Linked DNA regions of Homo sapiens: all the other regions are linked to region 3. Evidence: promoter capture Hi-C in human tissues and cell types (Jung and others, 2019). All regions are on one chromosome and are shown on one strand. The core of a region is centred on a gene start or on the middle of the fragment in contact, and the rest is flanking DNA. Distances in the headings are between cores, read along the strand shown.

What was found. Contacts are between HindIII fragments. The study calls those that stand out against the background at their distance.
Region 1: a contact is called between a fragment that was not itself captured here and the fragment with the promoter of CAMK2G in region 3, in 1 of the 25 tissues and cell types used here (lymphoblastoid cells).
Region 2: a fragment that was not itself captured here is called in contact with the fragment with the promoter of CAMK2G in region 3 in 1 of the 25 tissues and cell types used here (lymphoblastoid cells).

What each region holds. Positions count from the first base shown.
Region 1 is chr10:75,032,286-75,035,430 of GRCh38, reverse strand. It overlaps KAT6B (lysine acetyltransferase 6B), which reads right to left. Exons shown (of 18, transcript NM_012330.4): 18 at 2,807-3,145. Among named protein-coding and RNA genes, the nearest start is that of SNORD172, 12 kb to the right of the region's middle. RefSeq lists an enhancer at 2,137-2,186. The HindIII fragment of the contact is 6,681 bases long and covers 1-3,145 here.
Region 2 is chr10:75,087,620-75,090,996 of GRCh38, reverse strand. It overlaps the pseudogene PPIAP13. Among named protein-coding and RNA genes, the nearest start is that of DUSP13B, 10 kb to the left of the region's middle. The HindIII fragment of the contact is 6,630 bases long and covers 1-3,377 here.
Region 3 is chr10:73,872,666-73,875,952 of GRCh38, reverse strand. It overlaps CAMK2G (calcium/calmodulin dependent protein kinase II gamma), which reads left to right and starts at 1,398. Exons shown (of 23, transcript NM_001367534.1): 1 at 1,398-1,556; 2 at 2,870-2,964. The coding sequence starts at 1,492. RefSeq lists an enhancer at 676-785 and silencers at 1,006-1,285, 1,296-1,455, 1,516-1,685, 1,946-2,005. The HindIII fragment of the contact is 10,637 bases long and covers 1-3,287 here.

The DNA of each region.
Region 1 (3,145 bases), core at 239-2,738, 1.2 Mb before region 3:
TGCCCATCAGTAAGGCTGGAGCTGGTGGCTGAGAGTGGGAGTGGAAGGAGAGGGGCAGAGGGACTTGATTCTATTCCAGGTACACAGAAGATTCACTGAAGGGTTTTAAGCCGGGGAATGGTATGATCTGTTTCAAGATCACTCTGGAAAGATCCTTTGGCTGAAGTATGGAGAACAGGTTGTAGGGAGTTAAGAAGCGAGGCAAGAGCAGTTAGGAGGCTGTTGACAGGAAAGGAAATGGGCTGGACTGACAGCACCAGGGGATTAGTATTCAAGATTATTTTGGAATTAACCCAGAAAACGGACGGGACCTCCCGAGATGGGGAGGGAAATGAGGGCTAACTGATCGAGGTTTCTCGGCAGTGCTTTAACACTGAGATGGGATGGACCAGAGCAGGAACGGAGGAGCGGTCGGAAATCACCAGTTCGGTTGTCATGCAGATGTACAAAAGGTGTCCCAGGTCATTTGACGTGGCATCTAAAGCTCAGAGGAATATTCACAACTGGGGATGTAATTCCGGGTGTCACCTGCAGAGAGGTGGAATTTGAAGTCATCATACTAGATGAGATGATGAGAGAAAACAGAGAGAACACTCCCGGCCTGAGTGTTGCAGAACATCAATGTTTATAGGTAAGCCTGGGTGGAGGAGGAAGGTCCAGGAAAGGGGATGGAGAAGGTAGAAGGAACGATGGAAACCTGGGTACAGAGAAATGGAAGGTGCTGCTTCATAATGTAACAGTACGTGTACTTTGAGTATCGAAGATTGATTGTAGACCAAGGCTTGCTCGCAGCCACAAAGGGATCTGTATTTATATAGCACTTAACAGTTTTTACAGCAACATGTATTCATTAGCCAAGCCTTTAAATCAGAGAGGTGACAAATTAGGGCCTTTCAGAATACAGTGTCCTAGAAAAAAAGAGCTGGGATTTGGAAAGACCTGGGTTTGTTTCAGCTCACACATTTTAGCTGGGTGAGTTTGGGTAATTAATGTAGCTTAATCTGAGCCTCAACATCCTGATCTGTACATTGGAAAGAATGGCCCCATTTCCTGCACAGGGTGGGTGTGTGGGAGGAGTTTGTGAAAGCTTTGTGACGATATTGTGAGTCATTACTTCTAAAATAGAATGTTGGTGAGGAAGGTGGATGCCCTCCCACCTGGCGTAGGCACCACTTGCAACTATTAAAACGTGAGGCTGGCAACTGACCACCACTTGGTACGACTCTTACAAATAATAGAACACAGTTAGGGTTTAAATGATGTGGCCTGTTAATGAATCTCAATCGAATGAATTCAGCTTTGATGAATCCAAGTTCCTGTTTCGCCAAATCCTTGGCGTCACATTCAGATGTGAACTGATTTCTCTAGTGAGAGTGGGTGAGGTGGAGGGCAGGGTGTTCTGAGGCCATCTCAGATCAGCAGTTTCCTTCCTATGCTAAGCCTTTCTGTTCCATCAAGGAATGTTGGGACTGGGGCCAGCACGGAAGCTCCTAGTCCTAGCTATGCTGCAGTCCTTAAGGAGCCTGGGCAACCGAGGTGTCCCTGGGACTGTTCTAAGATTAGGGTTTGGCAGGTCTGGGGCAATGATTGGGACTCTTCCACAAGCTCCTTTAGAGGGCTGTTAGGCTGGCAGGGTATGGGAACTCAGACATCGCACAAACCACAAGGTGTGATTAGCAGGTCATGGCCAAAGGGAACACAGAGGGGAATCTCAGCCCCCAGAGAATCTTAACCCAAGAGGAAAGAGACAAAATATGTGACAGGTCGGAGCCCGTTCGGGGCTCTGCTTCCCGATCAGATTGCTTCCAGGCCCCAACCCCACCTCCAGGGCTCGGGCAGCCTCTTGCCCGATGTGTGGCCCACTGGGCTGCCCAGTCCTTGGCCACTCCTGAATGGACGCAGTGTTCGATTTGTGCAGGCATAGACCACCACTTCCTACTCTGAGGATGGCTGATAGGTTTCTTTTCCTATTAGCACAGCAGCTTAAATGGATCTTTTCCCTTTGTGCTGACGGCCCTTCAGACGTGTCTTCTTGAAAGCCCTCCCTCAGCTGTTACATATATTACCCCCATTGACTTTGCAGTTGAGGAAGGAAGGGACTAAAAGATAAAATTGTGACACTAAACCCAATACACTTTGTAACTGTGAAAGAAAATAACGATAAGGGTGAGAGTACAAGGCAGAACTCCACTGGGCACCCTCTGTCTGCACAAGGCCTTTTATTCTGGTGTGTACGCTCTATCCTGCCCTTGCACGATTTTGGGTCCACTTTAAGGCTTATGTCTATGCTTTGTAAAACATCTAATTTTTGTGTGTGTGTGTTGAATCAACAGTGCAAAAGCAACTTTTTTCCTCCACAGGGTAGTGACCTGCTTAACAGAGGAGTTGCGAGCACACGTGTTCAGACACCTGGAGAGCTTAACGGGCTAGTTTCACACGGGTGCTAGGTCAAGCATTCATTTCTAGACTTGTTGCTCAAATAACCAAATTCAAGCAACACTCAGAACTTTCTCTGAACGCTATACTTGTGAATATTCACTTTTGGCAGGGGGTCTAAACTTTAGACTCTAAAGAAAACATACAATTAATCATTCACAACAGAGCAAAACGTTCACACTTTTTAAAAAGAAAATGATTTTTCAAACATACAATCCCAAATTGGGTGCTTTTTTTGGTATGAATCTTTATAAAAAGGAAGTTTGCTACCCTGGTGCGAGGCTTGGAGGGATGTTTCTACAGACTGTGCGAGTGAGGCAGCTGGATATTTGTGCGGGATCTCTTTGCAAATGAAGATCAAAGTCCAAAAGAAAAAAACAATTTCACTTTATTTTAAAGACAATGATTGGCATACAGAAGGTATGCACTCGCATAAAATAAACTTTCATGAAAAGCATTAAAATCCATTATAAATTAATTTATTAAATAGGTATTTGGTATATGTGATGGTTTTATTAGATATTACTCTTATTTATTGCCAACCCCTCCCCCAAAGTCAAAACAAATCAGAAAATCCCATAACTCCAATTTACACTAAATAATTTATTTTCCCAAAATGTGTATGTGTTCTGAGGCGTGACACATGATACAGTTCCATTGGTCATTCTCTATCAATCATAATATGACAGGACACAAGAGGCTAAAAATG
Region 2 (3,377 bases), core at 386-2,885, 1.2 Mb before region 3:
TAGGTTTGGAAACCATCAAGTCAAATGGATTTTAGGAAGTATTCTGGGCTGGGCGCAGTGGCTCACGCCTGTAATCCCAGCACTTTGGGAGGCTGAGGCAGGCAGATCACTTGAGGTCAAGAGTTGGAGACCAGCCTGGCCAACACGGTGAAACCCTATCTCTACTAAAAATACAAGAATTAGCGTGGTGTGGTGGTGCATATCTGTAGTTCCAGCTACTTGGGAGGCTGAGACACAAGAATCGCTTGAACCTGGGAGGAAGAGGCTGCAGTGAGCCAAGATTGCACCACTGTACTCCAGCCTGGGTGATAGAGCGAGACTCTGTCTCCAAAAACTAAATAAATAAAAATAAAACTTTAAAGAGGCTATATTACAAATAATCTTGCTTAAGAAAAAAGGTAATGATGACTCAGTTGGTAGTATTTAGATAAAGTAACCGTGTTGAAGAGAAGCTAAGCCAGTAAGTCATACTCTCCATCATTTCTTTCACTCCTCAATCCTGTAGGGTGGGTCGTGTGAACACCATTTTATGGGTGAGAACACAGGCCCAGGGAGATTAGGCCAGAACAGCAGCTAGTATTGATTGAGAACTTTATTATCTACCTGTGCCTTAGTCAGTCAGGCTAGGCCAATGACTCTGACAGCCCCAAAACCTGAGTGACCTAAACTCAGCAACACTTTATTGATTGATTGATATTTTTATTTTTTAGATAGCGACTCACTCTGTTGCCCAGGCTGGAGTCCAGTGGTACAATCACAGCTCACTGCAGCCTCGATTTTCTGGGCTCAAGGGGTCCTCCCACCTCAGCCTCCCAAGTAGTTGGGACCACAGGCACATGCCACCACGCCCAGCTGACTTTTTGTAGAGACGGGGTCTCCCTATGTTACCACTCTGTTCCCAAACTCCTGGACTCAAGCGATCCTCCTGCCTTGGCCTCCCAAAGTGCTGGGATGACAGGCATGAGCCACCACACCTGGCCAGGCCATGCTTTATTTTTTATTCAAACACAGGTAGATGGAGGGCCAGGAGAGTAAGCATGGAGGAATGGAGGCCAGGTCTACTACTGCCCCTCAAGTTCCATGGGCCAGAACCAGTCACATGGCCACACCTAACTGCAGGGGAAGCCAGGAAATAGTCTAGGGTGGTGCCCAAGAAGAAGAGGAAACTGCAGATATTGATGATCATGAGCTTTCTACAGCGGGCATTAAAAAAAACAAAAACAGGCTTTGCAGACGCCACAGCCACTGGCAGGAGCCCTGTACTATCAGCCATGGTTAACCCCACCATGTTCTTTGACATCGCCGCGAGCCCTTAGACTGTGTCTCCTTCGAGCTGTTTGCAGACAAAGTTTCAAAGACAGCAGAAAACTTTCGTGCTCTGAGCACTGGAGAGAAAGGATTTGGTTGTAAGGGTTCCTGCTTTCACAGAATTATTCCAGGGTTTATGTGTCAGGGTGGTGACTTCACATGCCATAATGGCACTGGTGGCAAGTCCATCTACTGGGAGAAATTTGATGATGAGAACTTCATCCTAAAGCATACAGGTCCTGGCATCTTATCCATGGCAAATGCTGGACCCAACACAAATGGTTCCCAGTTTTTCATCTGCACTGCCAAGACTAAGTGGTTGGATGGCAAGCATGTGGCCTTTGGCAAGGTGAAAGAAGGCATGAATATTGTGGAGGCCATGGAGGGTCCAGGAATGGCAAGACCAGCAAGAAGATCACCATTGCTGACTGTGGACAACTCTAATAAGTTTGACTTGTGTTTTATCTTAACCTCCAGACCATTCCTTCTGTAACTCAGGAGAGCATCCTTCCACCCAATTTGCTCGCAGTATCCTAGAATCTTTGTGCTCTCACTGCAGTTCCCTTTGGGTGCCATGTTTTCCTTGTTCCCTTCCATGCCCAGCTGGATTGCAGAGTTAAGTTTATGATTATGAAATAAAAACTAAATGCCAAACAAACAAACAAAATATATACATACACATACACACATGTATAATTTATATGTATAATTTTTACATTTGTATTAATTTAGAAATTATATATATGTATATACAATTAAACTCTCATAAACCCTAAGAGGTAGATAATGTTGTTATTCCCATTTTACAGATAAGAAAACTGAGGCTTAAAGAGCTTAAGTAAAGTTTCTCAGGTTGCTTAGCTAGCAGGGTAGAATCATACTACCAACTCAGTCAGTGAACCTGTGTTCTTAAACACTTCGTGAGCCTCCATTCTGGATTGGCCTTAGTGACTTGCTGGCCAGGAGAATGCAGCAGAAGCAGCATTCTGGGGCTTCCGAGGCTGTCATAAGACACTTTGCATCTTCTACCTGGGTCTCTTGGAATGTGCTCTCTGGGAATCCTGAGCCACCCTGTAGAAGTCGGCCTGTGCCCCACTCTGCCATGCTGGACTGGTCATGGGTAGGCCAACTGGTTGACAGCCTCACTGAGCCCAGACACTAGACATTTGTGTGACCCTTTCTTGTTTACTCCATACCAGCATATCTGCCAGCGAAATACCACAGAGTGACCTCTGTCAATGCCACATGGAACAGCAAAATTGTTTACTGAACCCTCCTGAATTACTGACCTAAAATGAGATATCAGAAAATGCTCTTGTTTGGAGTCACTAAGTTTTGGGGTAGTTTGTTACACATCAATGGGTAAGCAGCACAGGGGCAGAGCCAGGTCTGACCAGCAGCCCTGGCTTGTAGCCACTTCATTAGCCTCCAGAGGAGTGTGTGAGTGAGGAAGCGACAGGGCGGCTACATCCATCACCCCGGTGCTGAGTGCATGGAGATGAGAGGCCCTGTGTCTACAGGGGAATGAAGACGGCAATAGAGCTCCACTGGAGACCAGGAAAGATGTTAGGGGCCCAAGGGGGATATTGGTGGCAAAGGCCTTGAGATGGGGAGGGTGGAGAGGCTACCAGAAAGAGAACCTTTCCCCACTCCTCATCCACATCCCCAGCTCTTTCCTAAGCTCCCGCCATCCTACCTTCCTCCCAGGACAATAAACTCCAGCTGAGAGGCCCGAGACCTCCTTCCTGCCCTCGGCAAGGCCTCCTGGGGGTTCTGCTGGCCTCTAGCTCAGAGCCAGTCCTTGATGACTGCCTCCTCTGCTTTCTGCCCTGGGGTGGGGAGGGCAGTTGCAGTGTGGACTCCGTAACCAGGGAGGCCTTGGGGGAAACTTGGTTGGGGAAAACTCAAGGGGAACTGGCCTACCCCATGACATCCTCCCCAGGTACTACCCTCCCTGCCAAGCAGGAGGAACCACCACCATTATTCTCCTTTGCCTCAGATCACTCTGCTTTTCTCAGCTCATTCCCCCAGGTGTCTGCATTCATCTCCTCATCCGTGCTTCTTGATCC
Region 3 (3,287 bases), core at 149-2,648:
ACCCGCCTCAGCCTCCCAAAGTGCTGGGATTACAGGTATGAGCCACCACGCCCGGCCCAGCAAATGTAGTTCTAATTAGGCACCAAGTACTATTCTAAGTGCCTTAGACCATTTAATGCTGACAGGCCTATGAGGTAGGTAATATTATTGTTCCCAGCCGGGCGAGGTGGCTCATGAAGCCACCTCTGTACTACATACATACTTCATTACTTCATGTATGTACTACATACATACTTCATTACTACAACATAATGAAGCCCCGTCTGTACTAAAAATACAAAAAAATTAGCCGAGCGTGGTGGCGCGCGCCCATAATCCCAGCTACTCGGGAGGCTGAGGCAGGAGAATCGCTTGAACCCAGGAGGTGGAGGCTGCAGTGAGCCAAGATCGCACCACTGCACTCCAGCCCGGGCAACAGCGCAAGACTCCGTCTCAAAAAAAAGATTCAGTGACTTACCCCAGGTCACAGAGCTGATCAGTGAGTTGCCTAGAAATCCAATCCAGGCAGTTTGATGCAAGTTCACGCTTAGACAGCTATGAGATAGCTCTACTGCCCCTTATACCAGTCAATGCATCACTACAAAATGTGGTAGGTGCCAGAAAATAAAAGTACGAGGGTGCCTTGCAAGAAAATGGGGATTTCCCCTTTCTTCCACTTTCTCTTCTAGCCCCCACTGCACAAAGCCTTTTCAAGTCTTCCTACTTCACCCCTTTCATTTCTGGCCGGATAGAGAATACTCTTTCATCTCTGCAGTTATGGTGCAGGAAGGCAGAGTCCTACCTGTATCCTTGCCCCTGGCCTGGTCTCCCTGATCAACCCGCGCCTGAAGGGTTTCTTTCTAATAATGGCCCTGGTGCTTGCGCAAGTCTAGACTGTCAGCTCCCAGAGGGAAGGCGGCTGGCAGCTGGCTCTGCGCAGGCTGGGGGCGCCTCCCGGGCGTGCAGCCTGGCACAGGCTCCTTGACCTTGGCTCTCTCCCCACGTGCTAGGAGCCCGGTTGGGGGCTCGGGACCCGCGTGTAGGACCCGTCCAGAGAGGTCAGTGGTCCAGACTCCTACACTCCTAACACATGCACCCTCGCATGCACGTTCCCGAGCCCGCGCGGGGTCCGCCCCGGGACAAGCCCATAAGTCGCGAACCTTCCAGCTCCGTCTGCCCAGACAGGTGGCCCGGAGCGGGGACCCCCTCCCCTCGGCTGCCCCGCGCGCCTGGCCCAGCGAGGGCGGCTCCGGGGCGGGGCGGGGCCGGCGGCGGGAGGCCCCTCCCCGGGGGCGGGCCGGGGGCCGGGCGGGGGGGGGGACTGGCGGGGCCTGGGGGCGGGGCGGGGCGGGCGGCGCGGGGGTGTCCCTCCCTCCCTCGCTCTCCCCGGTAAAGTCTCGCGGTGCTGCCGGGCTCAGCCCCGTCTCCTCCTCTTGCTCCCTCGGCCGGGCGGCGGTGACTGTGCACCGACGTCGGCGCGGGCTGCACCGCCGCGTCCGCCCGCCCGCCAGCATGGCCACCACCGCCACCTGCACCCGTTTCACCGACGACTACCAGCTCTTCGAGGAGCTTGGCAAGTACGGCCCGCCCGCCGCGGTCCCCTGCCTGCCCTGCCGCCCGGGAGCTATGCGGCTTCTCGCCCCGCCCCCCGGCCCTGCACCGGCCGCTGCGGCTCCCCCTCGGCCGCCCCACCCCCGCCTTTCCCGCCCGCCGCCTTCGGTCCCCGCGCCCCCCGCGCACTGCCCCGCATCCCCCTCCGCGCCCTGCAGCAACTGGCGGGGCCGCTGCTCCCCACGCGCCGCCGCGGACACCGCAGACCCCGGACCGCTCCCGGGTGCCCTCCAGCCCCGCCCCTCCGCACCCTTCAGGCGCCCCCCTCCCGACCACCTCCCAACGCTGCCCGGTTGCTCACTCCGCACCCTGAACCCAGGTCCCACGCGCCTCGCACTCAGGACCCTCCCCAGCCCTGCAGCCCTAGCTCTGCTGCGGAGCCCGGGCGTGGGGGGGCTGTTTGGCGCCCGGCCCCGCCCCCCGCGGGTGCCGCTCCAGGCTCCCAGCCCCGCGGCTGGGCAGTGCTGCGGCACCCCCGTCCCCTCCCCCCACCCCTGCAGTGGTCCCGGGAGCCGCGCCGCAGCCTCAGCATCCCCCTCCCCTCCGCACTGAGCTGGCCGCTGCAGCAGCCCCGGCCCCCCACCCCCACCCGCGGCGCCGAGCCCGGCCACTGCAGCCCCCGCCCCGCCCGCCCCCCCAGACGTTTCCAGAGCTCAGAGTGCGAGCTCCCGTTTGACGGGGACGTCAAGGAAAATAGCATGGGAAGGGGAGTTCTTGATGTCTGACTGTGTCCTCTCTTCCCTTGCTGTCAGTTGAGCCGGGATGCAGTGAGATGAAACCGGCTGTGGGGGGGTTTGAGCCTCACTTTGCCCCATGGTTGAGGGAGATTTCTCTTTCAGGGGATGATACCCTCTTTTTAATCTTTCCTTCCCCGACCTTCAACTGTTCCTGCTGAGAGAAGGGCAGGGTCTCTCTGCTCCCTTCTGCCCTGGTTCTCTTGGCCGGGACCGCAGGGCTGTCTGAGATGCAGCAGGTGTGTGTTTTCAGCATCGCCCACCCGCTCCTGATGTGCAGCCTGAGGTGGAGGCTGTTGCCTTGCCCAGGGACTGGATGAGGGGGTGGGAGCGCGGCACGCCACCCACATCTGTTCAGTGTCCTGCGGTGGCCGCGTCCTTTTGCCTCATGTTGGATGGTGGTGGTCACAGCGCCGGTGTGTGTGCATGTACGTGAGTGTGACTAGAGGTCTGGTGGTGGGAGCATCATCGTCCCCAGACTTGAAGTGTGTCTGTGTCACTCTGCCCTGCTCCGTGTCCCAGTTCTTTTCCCCTTCTCCCTCCAGGGGTGCTTTCTCTGTGGTCCGCAGGTGTGTGAAGAAAACCTCCACGCAGGAGTACGCAGCAAAAATCATCAATACCAAGAAGTTGTCTGCCCGGGGTGAGTGTTCCCTGTCTTGACCTCTTCCTGAGGGTGCCTCCAGGGGCCATGGTTTCTTTTGAGGAAGCCCCAGGAATTGGGGGTTGTGCGTTTTAGCACTTGGAGAGGAGTTGGAATTTCAGACTGGTTGGACTTTGTGTCAGGCTGAAGCCAGAAAAGGAGTTGCATGGGGGACTGGAAGCGCCCAGGTACAAAAGAATGAAGGAAGAGATGCAAGTAGCTGCAGTGGCCCCCAAAGGCTCAAGGGAGTTCGGTCTTCAGGGAGGTGGAGGATATGGGGGTAGTGGGTGGTACAGAATGGGGAGCTCTTAATTTGGGGCATT